Regions from separate parts of the Homo sapiens genome. Here region 2 is linked to region 1. The links are contacts of gene promoters, found by promoter capture Hi-C in human tissues and cell types (Jung and others, 2019). All regions are on one chromosome and are shown on one strand. The core of a region is centred on a gene start or on the middle of the fragment in contact, and the rest is flanking DNA. Distances in the headings are between cores, read along the strand shown.

Region 1 (7,914 bases), core at 1,950-4,449:
AAGCAATCCTTCCACCTCAGCCTCCCTAGCAGCAGCTAGGAAGACAGGTGGATGTCACACACCAAAAATTTAAAAAAATTTTTGCATATTTTTAAACATTTTAAGCCATTAGGTTTTAAAGGTAGTTTTGTTACATCACATAGATAATAGGTAAAAATATCACTTTATAGTACTTACGATTTGCAAAATATAGTATCTTCTGAGTCAGGGATCAGCAAACATTTTCTGTAAAGGGCCTGATAGTAAAAACTTCAGGCTTTGAGGGCCATATGGTCTATGTCATATCAACTCAACTCCATCCTTGCAGTGCAAAAGCAGCTATAGATAGTAGGTAAATAAATGGTTTTACTGTGTTCCGATAAAACTATTTATAAGAGTAGGCAGATGAATGGATTTGGTTTACAGGCATAGTTTTCTGAATTCTGTTCTAAGTTGACAGTCTAGAAGAAGGTATATAATTCTCATCTCATAGTATGCATCCAATTATTAATAATTAGCTTCTTTGTTGTCTTCAGAAAATTCTGTATGGGAAGAAATCTTGCAGGCTTTGTTATAAAGAATATCAAACTGGCACAGTGGCTCACACCTGTAAACCCAACACTTTGGGAGGCCAAGGCAGGAGGATAGCTGGCAGCCAGGAATTTGAGACCAGCCTGGGCAACAGTGAGATCCCATCTCTCTTTCCCATGATTCTTCCCTTAGGGTAGGCGTTCTGCATGCATGGTGCTCTTCTTACCCTGGGGAATTGAGCACACACAGTGTGTTTAGGAAGTTGTATGCATGCCCATACAACTGGCTTTCTTTTTCTTTTCTTTTTTTTTCCAGTGGAGTGTACCTGGAAGATCATACTTCGCCATTTTTGTCTCTTAATAATTTTGCATTTTTCTTAGAGATGGAGTTTCTCCATGTTGCCAGGCTGGTCTTAAACTCCTGGGCTCAAGCAATACTCCTGCCTTGGCCTCCCAAACTGCTGGGCTTACAGGTGTGAGCCACTATGCCCGGCCCAGACATTTTCTTTTTTGCCAATATTTTGCACATGAGCTGTAACAAATCATATATAATAATAATAATAAATGGAATATACATTTTTAAATGATTGCTTGATTTTAATTCTGTGGGGAGGAAGAGTGCTACAATTAAGGTAATAGAAATGTCTTTTCTTTCCTTTCCCTCCATGCCGTCTCCCCGCAAAGAATTTCCTAAGATTTTGATGGATTCTTATAGAAATTGTACAAGCCTATGGAGTGTTTATTTCTCCTCTTAATAATCACAAATAACAACCAAATATTAGAGATTCCAAACATTGAAATGGCAGGAAAGTTCTTTTGGTTCATAGATTTGCACACTTTTTCCTTGGCTTCCCTCGAAGTGTGAGCTTATGAGAGAGACTAGATGTGATAAGACGTAAGGGGAGAAAAAGGTCTTGGTTACTGGCAGAAATATAGCCGCAGGGAGACATAAATGTAATCAAAAAGGCTTTCTCAACTGCAGAAAAGAATTCCAGCCTTTTTTATCCAGATGGGCAACCCTCTGGGTGGGCTGATTTTGTGAGTCAATCAGATCCAAAGTATATGTCTAGAGATTACAAGGAAATAAATACATTTGTGGGTCAGAAATGTTTCACCTGGTCCGAACTGCTTTCTTTCTCTCTCATTTTCATTAGTTTGGAGTGTGTGTGTATCTAAACCGCCCTGCTTTTCTCTCAGATCAGTAACACATTTGCTATTAACTTTGATACAACACTGCTTTAGAAATACAGGTTACAGTTATTCAGAATTTTAAGTTGAATTTATTTATACTGTCTCCATTCTTTAAAGACTAGAAGTGGTTTAATAGAACATACATGATGTATTTGTGTGTATTTGTGTCATATGCTTTTGGAAAAAGTCACTTGTCAATTCCACAAATAGTTCTTGGGCGTCTACTATGTTTAAAGTATCTTGAAGTTTATAAAGATGAATGAAATGTCCTTGATTGAATCTTGGTGTACTACCTTGTCCAGAAACACTTGCTATTTACTAAAAGGATAACAACCTTACCTGCATATCAAAATCACCTGGGGAGCTTGTTGAAAATACACCGGCCCAGGCTTCGGCTCTCAGCTTAGGGAGATTCTGATAATACGCAGAGCCCAAGGTGTGTGTAGTTTTAACAAAAAGCTTCCCAAGCGAATCTGATACACATCTAGGATTAAGAAACACTGCTTTAAACTAAGAAAGGACTAACTGCAGAAGTTCAGCCACAAGTCAACCAGATGTATGCCCTTAACATTCACATGAGCAGTTGGCTAAAGTCTCTTATAAGGCTATTTCTATTTCCGAGGTTTCAGAACGGGTAGTTATAGTCTGAAATACACCCCAGAGGACAGAGTCAGGTCCAATCTTTTCTGTAAGACACCTTGCTCAAGACTGCTGTGAAGGAATAAGAGAGCTGCAGCCAAAGATCATCCCAAAGTCTCCCAGAACACTCTATCATTATATCCATCTCACATGAAATATGGGTGTGTACATTTTTTCCTTCACTAGATTGGCAAGTATTCCAGCGCAGGGCAAATCTCTTTTTTCTCCCACCAAGGAACACAATATCCCATACATAATAGGTGTTTGACAGGTTTTTTTTTTAAATTGAATTGAATCCTTACCTAGCTCCTAGGGTCTGACTATATATACCCATAAATTATACATCTGTTTATAAAACATTTCAATCACACCAAAGAACATATATATGGAAGAAAGAACGATAAACAAGCACCCATGGACCCACCCCCCCGTTTATGAAACAGAACTTTGCCAGTGCTTTCGAAGTTCCTTACTGAACTAGATCTTTTAAAAACAGCAACGATTTTCTGAATTTTAATCAGAAGGCATGCATTCCTTCATTCATTGATTCGATTCCGTCATGGTCAGACCCGCCTACCAAGTGTCAACATGATATACACGATGTAAGTATTCCACTGTTGGGGTGAGGAGGGTCAAAAGTGACAATATGCTATCTCCAGAGACTACGGATCGCCTTTGCTGCAAATGGTCCCAACCCGGCCTGGCGCTCTAGAGCAGGCGTGGTTTCTGCGCGCGGACACTTTGGAGAGAAACTACGCGTCCCGGCAGTCCGCGGGGCGAGTGGGCGGAGCCGGGCCGGGGGCGGGGGCCGGGCGCCGGGCGAGAGGTGGCATTGTGTAGGGGAGCGCGGAGCTGCATTTGTCTGCTCCAGGTGCTAGCCAGGCAGGCGCAGCCGTGGCCGGCTAGGGCTGGAAGTGTCAGCGGCGGCCGCGGGCCCGGCAGAAGGCCGAGTAGGAGGGACCACGCGCCGGGGGCCGCGATCTCTGGCAGGGGGCGGTGTGCCAGCGGAGCACCATGCACATAGGCGCCCAGCGCCCCAACTACCCCTCCCGAGGAAAAGAGGCCGGGGCCGCGCTGGGGCGGCGGAGAGCATGAGGGAGGCCGGGGGGCGGCTCGGCTTGGAGCGCTGCTAGGGAGCGGTGCGCGCCGCACACCCGCCTGGGCGCGGCGGAGGGCGGGGAGCCGGGCAGGTCGCGCCTGCGGGCGGCAGCCGACCGCCGGGAGCTGTTCTGATTTCCGACGCGCACGCTAGGGGCCCGGAGCAGCCCCCGGCCCCGGCGCGCCGCCGACATGGGCAACGCAGGGAGCATGGATTCGCAGCAGACCGATTTCAGGGCGCACAACGTGCCTTTGAAGCTGCCGATGCCAGAGCCAGGTGAACTGGAGGAGCGATTTGCCATCGTGCTGGTAAGTGCGCGGCGGCGGTCGGGCGCGGGGACCCGGGGCCCCGGGCCGGGCGGCGCAGCTGACCCCCGCCCCTCCCCTTCACCCCGTGCCGGGAGCGAGCCTCCATTCCCGAGGGGGAGGCTCCCGCTTTCCCCTTTGTGGCCCCCCAGCACTCCTCTTCACCCCCCTGGCAGTCCCCCGCGCTCAGTCTCTCGGGGTCCCGGGATGGGGATGGGGGCTCAGGGCCGGCTGCCCAACCAGCCTCGAACCCATTGTCTGGCTGGAGAGGCACCTCACGGCGCGTGTGCCCGGGAGGTGCGGCGTGGGCGTGAAGAGAAGGTGGCGCGGGCTGGGAGGAGGAGGTGGCGAGCCGCTTAGGCTTTTTTTTTAAAAAAAACAAAACAAAACAAAACAAAACAAAACACCCTGAGCCCCTGCGGACCATCCCTCGGGCGGCCAGCCCGGGACCTGCGAAGTCCCCGGCAGATGGGGCGCATGTGGCCGGCCGCGGGCGCCGCGCCGGGCGGTGAGCGGAGGCGAACTTGGAGGGCTCACGTCGCGGCTTGGCCAAGGGGAGCTTCCCCGAAAGGGAAAGCGGAGACCCACAGCAGTGCGGCGCCCCGGCCCTTGGCGAGGAGCAGGGGCATCTGAAACCCAGGCCGGGGAGAACCTCAGCGCGTTCCCTCTAGACTTAAATCTTAAACCACAAAAATGTGGAGTTTTGCGGGGACGTGTTGCGAGCTGTCCTGACTGCACGGGCGACCCCTCCCCTCCTCTTGCACGCCCAGCCAGGTCCCCCGCTCCCTCCTGCATTCCGCTTCTCCCAGCTTTCCAGCTCCTCAAATCCAGGACTCTGAAAACTCCCCTCTTTCTCCCTTTCCTGCTGGGACAGTGTCTGGGCCCCTCCCAGCCGAGGCTTGTGCTGTGAGCTGCAGAGGGTGTGGCGGCTTGCCCCAGCCAGGATCTGGACTGCTGTTGGTCCCCCAGACTACCAGTTTTAGTGTCCCAGCCTCTTCTAAGGGATGTTGGGAGGGACACACACAGGCGAGATTGGGCTCATTCCTACTCCTGACACTTGGACACTTCTCTTTTCCTAGTTGGTTACCTCTAAACTCCACAAGACTAGGCAGCAAGGGAAACTCGTGATCCGGGCAGCCAACGATTGTGCCTGCCTGCGGGTTTTCTTTTCTTCTTTTGTTTTCATGAAAACTTAGAACTTTGGCAGAGGACTCGAGTTCTAGATCAAAAATCGGTTTTCTGAGGTGTGCTCAGCTACAGGACGTTCAAATTGCCTGCCTTCAGGCCTTGAAAAAGGAATGGTTTGGTATGGGAAGTGATGTTCTGGATGGCAGGTTAGCTGTGTGCTCTTTGGGAGAACTGAGCTCTCTCTCCCGCCACCTGGAAACTCTGGTGTGGCCGTCGGGGAGACAGATGAGGTTGCTTGTGTTGCTTTGCATCTCCTGTGATCTCCCACAGCTGCTCCCACCGTTGTGCAAGATGGGACACTGAAATGAAACGGCCTAGGCATAACTCTCAAGGCGGCCTGGGTGCATACTTGACCTGCTTTTCCAGAGACAAACGTTTTTCTTCAAAACCCTCTTCCTACTAGACATATGGTTCTTACCTCCTGGCTCTGGCTTTTTTTCCTCCTGGCTCTGGCTTTTTTGTTTTTCCATCCATGCTGTGGTGCTCTGTGTGTGTGTGTGTGTGTGTGTGTGTGTGTGTCTGAATACTTGTGGTGGAGGAGCCAGTGACACAGGGAAACCAGTGCAGCAGCCATAATAATAACAATAATGCAATTAAGTTCTGCTTGACTAGGATAGCATTTTTTTTTGCTTGAGCTTTCATTTACCCTGCTGATTAATAACACATGGTGTGAATTAATCTTTAGAAAAATAATGTCCCATCATTAACATGGTGGATTTGTGTTCTTGTTAAGGCTAGCAGTTGCAAATATAGTATTTAGACAATTATGATTGTACATCCCAAGCTTCTTGGGGCAGGGTTGTTGTGGCTACTTTTACACTACTGTGTGTCGCAGTTACTGGGTGCAATTCCTTTTAAAATTGTTTACAATATTCTAAGCCTCTCAATCAAGAAACAAAAACAATACCAGGCTGACCTTTTATTGAGTAGAGACAAAGCTTTTGGGGGACCAGGTCAGCTTGGGAACCCTCTTCCTAGGGACGCATTTGGACCATTGATGCGTTCCTTGTCCCAGGTCAGCTCCACTTGCTCTTTGACAATCTGTGAGAGGAGTTGAAACCTTCCAGATCATCTCCGTGGGCCAATAGAAGTGCGCAGTGTTGGTGATTTCTCTTGTTTTTTTTTTTTTTCTGGAGTTGTGTGTGTGATAATCTCAACTTTGCTTTTCTTCATGAGTTGCTTAAGAAATCAGTTCAAACCATTTAATTGTGGACATCAATCTTGAAGGACAAGTTTTAAGTGGCAGATTTTTAAGTATGTATGTGGAGGGCAATGGAAATTGTGTTGGCATTATTGATACCAGTTCAACTTTCTTGTATAATAAAGATCATACGGGTGTTTTGGGAGGAAAACCAGATAGTAATACCGTATAGAAAAGTGTCTAAGCACCTCATTGTAAGTATGGCTAACATCAATAATTAACAGACTGTTTCAAGCTAGGAGAACAGTTCCTCCCAACTTCCAGCTCTAGAATATTTAAGGCCTCAGAGAGAAGTAAACAAAAATTAAAATGACAAAAGTCCATTTTATTTCTTGTTAGGAAAGCCTTAAGAGAGAACAAATCTATTCAATGACTATACCCTCCCTCCCCATCAGTTTATATGGGTTAAATTGTGCGAATATAAAAAATTAGTGGGTATGAATGGAAATGAGAGAATAAAAGACTAATGAATTAAGACTAGAGGGGTGAACTTTGAAAAGTAATCTTTTTAATAGAAAAAAATGGAGTTAGTGACTAGCAAAAATTGGATCCCAGTGTTAGGAGTTTAATCCTCCCAAGGATAGGTATCTTCAGTATCATTATAGTAATAGTTATAAAACTTACATTTAAGGGAAAAAATTACTGTCTTAGTGTATACATTTAAACCATTTGCTTCCCTGTATTGACCTTTCAGGTACAGCTGGAAGGTGAGATACACACACACACACACACACACACACACACACATATATGCATATGCCTTTGTGTGTGTGTATGTGCAATGTTTCTGTTATACTCTAACCTATGTATAATTTATATGGAAGTGTTTCATAAATTATAAAGTCAGCCACGTACTTCAATCTTTGTTCTTTTAGGATGTAAGGATGTATATATTTCATAGGTAATATTAGCCTGTGTTTTTTGGGGGTTCTTCATATCTGTAATAGCCATGTGGCCCTCCATTGTATTTATTAACCATTGTCTAATTTTGGGGGTTACATCAAGCTTGTCAACCACTGCCTGTGGGCCTCATGGGCCCAACGCAAATTCATAAACTTTCTTAAAACATTATGAGATTTATTTCATGATTTTTTTTTAAGCTCATCGGCTATCGTTAGTTTTTGTGTATTTTATGTGTGGCCCAAGACAATTCTTCTTCTTCCAAGTGTGGCCCAGGGAAGCCAAAAGATTGGACATCCTGGGTTACATACACACATCCACAAATACTCCCATGTCTTTTATTTTTAAAGATGATGATAAGAAGGTGGTTCTGGGTGGATGTGGTGAACAACTGATGGTTTTTGTCCGAGAATACCTGTTTCTACATTAGACACTGCATAATATTATTCACTCATTTTTGGCTTGCAGTCACTGTTTACAACTTAAAAGGCACACCCTTGGATGCCTTTGTTGAAGAGCTATCCTTAAAATTCTTTTGTTGAGTTTCAGAGGAAAGGACAATTTTAAGTCTGTGTCTTAGCTGCTGTATCTTGTGCAATATCAGGTGTCAGGCAGCACTGCAAACAGATTTAAAATTATTAGGAAGTAATGGTTTAGGGCAGTATTATATTTGGTATCAGGAACTGCTTTGGTATCTGATTAATTTGAGTCCATTTCCTTCTCATTTTTTTTCTGCATGTCCTGAGATTGAATGTGGTCATTTTGTTTTAGGAAGGAGTGGGAACATTTTCTGAGTATCTACTATGAGTAGGCCTTTTACATGTTCTCATTTAATGCTCACAGTAACTAATGCTATCAGCAATACTATAGATGCATAAGTAA
Region 2 (7,914 bases), core at 3,884-6,383, 49 kb after region 1:
TCTCAGAGATCTGGGCTGCCTTGATATAGGCCAGTGTTTAACTAAGCAAAGTGTTATGTCAGAATGTGGTTACTATTCCATTATTTCTTCATCCTTCAATTTTGCTTTAATTTGATCTTAAATTTGCAAGTACCTAATGTTTTTAAGAGTGTTATATATATCATTTTTCCCTAATTTTAAAACCTAAATACTTTAACAAGCTGCTCAACATGAAGAAGGGAATGGTTTGAATCAGTTTATGAAAGAATACTCTGTTCCCAGGTTGGGTGGGTGCCCTGTCAATAGCTTTATTATGTATGGCAAACACAATGCTAAGAAAACTTATTAGAAACTGAAGTCTTAAATGCTTGGGAGATTATAATGTGTTCCGACTTCAAAATTTTAAGTTAACTTCCGCTACCAGTTTCTATGAGACTGATTTCTGTAGTCTGCTTTCTGTAGTCATAGAAAATAGTAGTGAAAGCTATAGAAAGCTGTAGAAATGGAGAGGTGGGTGAGAATTTATTAAGGTGCCTTCAAACATATAAACTAGAAATAGATTCAGTTATATCAAAGATAGGCCTAGATGTGGACGGAATAGTGAATAGTTTCTGGGGCTACTCTTTCAACATGGATCTATCTGGTTAATTGATACTAGTCATTCTCTACTGCTATTTTTATAGCATTCATCACATTTTAATTTTTGTGGCCATCTCATCCTGGGCTTTGAGCAGCCAAGAATAAGGTTAGTTCATCTTTGTATCTCTTGCATCTAGCATGGTACCTGGCACATAGAAAGCATTCAATAAATACTGTACTGATTGAATGAAACATTTTTTACAAATGTGTTTGAACCAAAGGCAGCCTATTGTTAACCTTGGTGAGCCTTGGAAAGCTTTTTGCTTGTGGTGACGTAGCAACTGAAATATTTTGTAAAAAGTGAAAATACCTTCAAATGATTTATCTCTTTCTGATCTTTATTAAGACAGCAGTGTTGTATCCACACATTCCTAACTGTGTGTAGTCAGTTCTTACAAGTTCTTGCCATGCTTGTGTCCTTAAAATGTTTCACAATTTTGGCACTGAGAAGCCAGAGCGAAGTGAAGGAGTTGCTCATTGTTCTCCATACACTCTGGGTTCTCCCACCTCTGCACCTTGGCTCAGGTTTTCCCCTTTAGCTAGAATGCCCTTTTTCCTTGGCTTTGGCTGTCTCCTAATGGATTACTCGCTGTACCTACCCTTCTAGGCTGAGCTCATAGCTAGCATATGTAATCTAACATTTGAATCAGTTGAGAAAACTCTTATTTTCCTGCTCTATACACCCAGTATAGTTGGTTTGCAGGTGTCTGTGGAGTTTGTTTTATACAGTGCCTGTTGGGCTAGAGCTGCATTATAGCTAGTGTCTGTAAGACCGTTCTAGTTTAAGAGCATGCAGGGTGGCGACAGTGAGATGAGACTGGCTGTATCAGTTTATGGCTGTTCAGTTTATGGCAGGTGACTTAAACTGAGCCTTCATTTTCTCATAAGCAAAATGGGAACTTAGTATAACTAAGTAGGAAAATGTATATAATGCCTAGGAATGGCTTTTGCTAGGTGCCTAATAAGTAGAGTTTCCTTTTCTTCTCTTTATTTCAAATGATGTAAAAGAAGCCTTGTTTTGAAACCAAGAGTTGTTAATCTGACCAAATTTCATGAAAGGATATTGATCACAACATATTTGTTATCAGAGTTTGGTAACACCTGACTAATTTTTTGTATTGCTTTGGGATTTATTTAAGCATGTGAGACTGGTATTACCTAAGGTTTTAGTTGACAGAAGATGGATAGCCTGAGAGGTCGAAATTATGAGAGCAAAAGACTTTTGAAAATTTCTGCCATGGCATATTTCATACGTTTCAGCTTGGTGTCCAGGGTTTCCCTGAACAGACGAGTTTGTGACATACGAGCTCATAAATATACTTGCCTGTGCCCTCTTCCAGAAGGGAAAGCCAGATCTCCAGGGATGCTAACTGTTGGGGAGACAATGAGAGGAGCTTCTTGTCTGAATATCTTTGTTCACAGCAGAGATCATATTTGAAGTTCTTCTCTTCATCAAAAAGAGCAGAATGGAAAATGGTTTAATATTCCTGTCGTTAGGGTTTCCGCTCTGTGTGGGGTCATGAGAGTCACAGTCTTTATTCTGAATTCTGAAATGATGGTTTGTTTTACTTTTAAAAATGCATCTCACAGGGAAATAGAGAATTGTTCCTGTGAACTTCCTGCCTGCTGTACTAAACGCAGTTGCTGTGGCAGTTTTTAAAAAGAAATTAAAATGCAGTAATGCTTTAAATGTACTGCTTTAAGAAACTCGATAACTCTTGATTAGTTAGCATAACAAACAGCAAAGCAGAACTTTTTTTTTTTTCTTTTTGAGATAGGATCTCCTCCAGCCCAGGCTGGAGTACAGTAGCACAATCACGGCTCACTGCAGCCAGGCTCAATAGATCTGCCCACCTCAGCCTCCTGAGGAGGCTGGAACTACAAGCAGGCATCATCACACCCAGCTAATTTTTGTATTTTTTGTAGAGATGGGGTTTCACCATGTTGCCCAGGCAGGTCTTGAACTTCTGGGTTCAAGTGATTTGCCCGCCTCAGCCTCCCAAAGTGCTGGGATTACAGGAGTGAGCCACCATGCCTGGCCTAGAATCTTTACATACCGGTTTTAACCATGTTGTTTCACTTTTTGAAGCACTTAATAGGAGGTAAATATACTTTTGAAAGTTACATACTTAATAGAAACACACATTAATGGTACCCAAAGAACCAACTCACTCGTAGATTGTGCTCCATTTTTGTGCGGAAGTTTTTGTGCCAGCCAATTACATTTGCTTCTGTGGTAGATTTCTCTTCATTGGGTCAAAGGAGAGGCGTCATTAAGGAAAGCGCATGTGTCTTTGTTTCCTCTGGGTGTTCTGATGTGAGAGAGCCTGGCTTCTTCAGTAGAAGATTCTGGGAGGTTTTTGATAATCAAGTGTGGGAGGTCTTTTCTAATTTTCAGTGCTTCCTGGTGAGAAAAGCAGATCTCAAGAAGGGCTGAGAGAGGGTCCACTTGCCTCCACAAAGATCCTGATGCTAATAGAGGCTAAAGAGTCACTTTTGGCTTCAACTTTTAACTGCATTCTTAGGGCTCTTAATGTATTATGGACTTGAAATTTGCAATGAGAGTAGATCTCAAGTGGTCTCACCATACACACCCACACCAAGAAAGGAAACGATGTGAGGTGATAGATAATGCTAATTAGCTTGATTGTGGTAATCATTTCACAATATAAACTTATATAAAAAAATCACATACACCTTTATTATATATATAATTCTTGTCAGTCATACCTCAATAAAGCTGGGGAAAAAATAGAAGTGTGTCCATAATATTCAATAAATAATACAGTCATGAGCCACATAACATTTCCATCAAAAACGGACAACAAACTGGTCTCACAAGATTATAATAGAGCTGAGAATTCCTATCATCCAGTGACATTGTAGCTGCCTTAACATAGGGCAATGCATTACCCACGTGTTTGTAGTGATGTTGGTGTAAACAAACCTACTGTGCTGCAAATGGAGAACACATACAATTATGTTCAGTATATAATACTTGATAATGATCATAAACGACTAAGTTACTGGCTTAAAAAAATAGGAGTGTGGTGAGGGAGAGACCAACAAATAGGGCAGAGAGAGAGGTAGTTTTAATTTCTGGGAGAGATGCGGATATTAAATTTACCTCCCTTGGAAACACTGGAAGGAGGATAAAGCAAGAGGGCTCTGGGAATCTAGTGGAAACTTTTTAGGTGTGGACACTTCCGTTAATCCTTTTTTTTTTTTTTTTTTTTTGTAGTTTAGGGGGCAATAGTGTATTAGGCTCTAACTTTGGGTTTTGTGATTTCCTTTTATAAGATAAATTTAGTTTTCTTTTTTGGAGTTTAATTGTTTATTGTAATGCTAATTGTCTTCATGTAGCATGTTGTAAGCTTAAAATGTTCCGTAAGAGTAACCTGGCGTGGTGGTGCATGTCTGTAGTCCTAGCTACTAGGGAGGCTGAGATGGGATGATAGTTTGAACACAGGAGTTCGAGACCAGCCTGGGCAACATAATAAGACCCTGTTTCAAATCAAAAAACCAAAAAATATTTCATAAAAGGTAGCTGCTATTAATAATGGCATAATTATAATAATATCTTACTGTTATTATATATCCAGAATGGTTATAGCAAACTTGGTGCTCTTTGAAAATTACCACAGCAGCTAACCCTGGAAACCAAAGAAAGCCATTGAGGAAACCCTAGCCATCCCCAAACTTAGAGGAAATAAGTTAAGGCATTTATTTAGTCTTCAAGGGTTTTATTTATGGCAAAGAAATGAGGAGAAGTCATCATCAGTTTGATGATTAGCATCTGTTTTATTTAGAGAATTTTGACATCATAAACTAGGAATTTGTAAAACTGTATGTGCATATTTTTCTACATCTGGGGAGCTACCATATGTTATACAGATCTCATCCCTTACATTTCTAGAGTTGTACTGTAGGAACTATGTCTAGTAAAAATCTCACTCTTGGCTTATATGCATTTGGAATTACCCTTTCATATAATAAAGAAATAGGGTATTGATTTCTATTTTTGTGAATGCTTACTTTGTGTATATTTATCTTTTTAAGTTTTCGTAGCAGCTCTGCAAAGTAGGCATTTTATCTTTATTTTCCAGGTGAGGAAACTGATTCTGAGGAGTAAAATAATTTGCTCAAAGTTTTGTGATAGTGGCAGTACTCAGGTTGGAAACAAGGATTGGCTGACTCCAAAGTCCATTTTCTGTTTGTTACTTAAGTTGTACTTACACATTTTCCTAAATTTATTTTTCTCATGACTTGTCCTCACTCCAGAGTCTGGATTACCAGCCCCTGTGGTCTAGCAGAAGTTTGGGATGTTGAGGTAGGGCCTGGGCATTGGGGTGTAGACATCGATATTGCTGGCCAGGATAGGGGCTAGGCCATGGAATGACTGTGGGTAGAACTCAGCTGGTGGGGAGATATGGTCCATTTGATGGCTGACATTAGTGAGAGGGCAGGAGAGTACTCTTGATCAGTGATTGGTTTCCCAGGACAGAAGCAAAGCCTTCCCTCAGGCTTCCTGAGTGAAAGAGCATCCTTCAAACATCGTGCTTGAAAGGTGGACTCTTCTCCTCGGTTCAGTGGAGGCAGCCTGCCTGGGTCCCTTGAGTGCGCCTTCATCCTGGGGCATCTTGGGATTTAGGAAGCTTGTATCTGAATTTTGGAATGCAAGGGCTTCTGGTGGGGGCCATTATATTTTCAGCTAAGATTGGCCTTCCCTGGTCCAGAGCCTGCACACGTTTCTAAAATCTTTTTCAAACTCTCTGCTGCTTCATTAAAGTAAGAAAAAATAGCTACACTCTAGATTTGGTTTCTTGTTTCTTCAATGACACTTTGTCTCCTCATCCTAACACAGTAATCAACTAACCTAGTAAACTAACCCATGTTAGTGTAGCTAATATCCATAAATGTATTAGAGGAAGAATTCTTTTTTAGCAAGAAACTCCGAGGCCATGCTCCCTATCTTTGTCTAACTCCTTGGTGACTTTAGTAATGAGAATTTTAATCTAGAGGCTCCAGGGAGACACCCTCCCCACAAAGTGTGGGATTGCTCCTGTATTCTGTTAATGCCTATTTGTTAAAAGAGTTAACAGTGACCCTTGAACCATGAAGCAACTCTTTTTGGTGCTAAAAGAACACAAGTGCCCAAGAATGCAGCAGCATCGAAACTGGGGATGAAGTGATTTGTTCTTGACATCAGTTGGCAGGTACATTCTCTTGCAGAGAGTAAAGATGAAATAGAATCCCATTCATAGAAGGCAGTTTGTAGGGAGGGAGGCTGGGGATGGGAAAATGAGCTCAGGCTCAGAGGCCTTTTACGTCTTAGTGTTCTCACAAATATGCTTCCAATAAAAACCATTTAAAAGGCAAAATATAAAATTCTTCCATTTAGGAGGACCTTGCTGAGATCTATGGTGGTGGTTTAAACTGTGCCGTGATTAGAACCATGCCCTATGAATGTGTAATATGTTGTCGACCAGATGGTCATATAATGCTCACTGTCCTGGTGAGTTTGAATTAGGGAGCTGGGGAAATCTTGGCTGAGAAAAGGTAAGATAAGGCAAAAGTATATCTGCTTGAGGGGCAAAGTTGCATTCAACTGATTTGGTCTCTGCAGAAGTTTGCCATAGAAATCTGTCAGTGTGTACTGCTTTCTACTATTAATTGGGGTTTTAGTCACATGCTTTGTGGTTTGTTCATGAAGTTTTTATTTAAATGACTTATGAGAACTATCAAAATGTTTGCTCTGAAGGCTTAAATTGTGTTCTTATGCCATGGATTTTTTTTCAGATGATCAACTTACCCATGTGAAAATGCTTGAGCAGGTTGGCTGCCAAATTGTAATGAAAGGCTGTCAGCAATGCCTTGATTTATCTTTCTTTCACCTCTCCTGGATATGCTGTCTGCTTCCTAAGTCTAAGAGGGATATACTCAGTCCTGCAGACAACATCTGTGCTTCTGCATCAGGTTCCCTGCCTTTCTTGGGAGCTTTAAACATAAGAGTATCAGGAAAGGTTCCATAGTTGGTGACAATAGAAGATAGGTTAGTTTTGGGCAAATGAGGAAATGAAATGAGCTTCTCTTTCTCCTAGCATACCCTGCTGAGATTTATTCCCAGCACCTTCAAGGGGGCTATTGTAGAATGCAATCCCCAGTGCTCTCAGTGAAAGGGAGAATTACAAAGTACAGAGTCTTATCCTTTCACTGTAATCCCGGGTGCACACTTGGATTCTTGATCTGTAAGTGGGAGTGTGGTCCAGACCTCATTCAATGTAAAGCTCTTATAGAGACCCTGATTTTTTAAAGGGAATTTCTGCTGTTGCCACTTGTCTTGTCATCTTCTCCCTGAGAATGTTTTACCATAGCAGTTAATAAGTTATGTGATTTTAAATACCTCTTCACTTGGAGGAGTCAGTGCCTGTGGTAAGTCCTTTGACCATTCATTAACTCATTCAAACTCTAGGCTTTAGCTGACAACTTTTTCATTAGCAGCTTTCTTTGCTTGTTATTTTACTTTGATTTTCATGCTTTTCACCTTATATGTGTCTATCTGTTTTCCCTCTAGGACTTTCATGACCCTACATTTTCAGCAATTCATTGTCTGTCTGATTTGATGTTATTACCTTGAGGCCTGGAGATTTCTTACACAGAGGTGTTTTTCATTGACCTGGATAAACTCAGAAACAAGTCATCACTGTCTTTTGGCATCCCGCCTCCCCATTTATGTGTTATTCACCATAGTCTAATTAAATATGTTAAGTAGCAATGCCGGAAGAAGTAGATTCTGCTTTCAAAATGGTTTTAATTTATCTCAACAAAGGTAGAGAAAACCTTTGTTGCTTTAGGAGTCTAGGAGACTCCCCTGGGCAAAGTTTGCTGTTTTTTCTTCCCAGATTCCCCTTGCCCTTCACCATTCCTCCAAGACGCTTGAGGAATGATGATTTAAAAGAAAAAGGTCATGAGGGAGGACTGGTTCATAGATATTTCATGAAAAAGTGTGGCCTGTCTTGGGATTAAACCATTCCTGGGAAGTAGAAATGAGCTCTTCATTGCTTTGTAGGCAACCACAGTATATAAATACTGTAGAAGATCTGGGTTAAAAACCAAAGCCCAACTGTTATCTATAGTGTGCTGTTGCCAAGCTCCCAGTAAAGTTTTAGTTTAACAGACCACATTGTGGCTGATAATGATAATTTTGTGTTATCCCTATTGGATGAGTGGCTAGCCTGTTTCCACAGTAGACAGATGCTTTTCTTAATGGCAGACACCAGCCCAGGGCCTTGCTTT

What was found. The method cuts DNA at HindIII sites, captures the fragments that hold promoters and counts their contacts. A contact is called where the count stands out against the background at its distance.
Region 2: a fragment that was not itself captured here is called in contact with the fragment with the promoter of FMNL2 in region 1 in 3 of the 25 tissues and cell types used here (aorta, dorsolateral prefrontal cortex and hippocampus).

The regions. Positions count from the first base shown.
Region 1 is chr2:152,331,975-152,339,888 of GRCh38, forward strand. FMNL2 (formin like 2) reads left to right here and starts at 3,200. Exons shown (of 26, transcript NM_052905.4): 1 at 3,200-3,746. The coding sequence starts at 3,630. RefSeq lists silencers at 3,000-3,649, 4,160-4,259. The HindIII fragment of the contact is 5,547 bases long and covers 957-6,503 here.
Region 2 is chr2:152,379,440-152,387,353 of GRCh38, forward strand. The region is part of intron 1 of FMNL2 (formin like 2); the gene reads left to right. Among named protein-coding and RNA genes, the nearest start is that of FMNL2, 48 kb to the left of the region's middle. The HindIII fragment of the contact is 5,401 bases long and covers 2,434-7,834 here.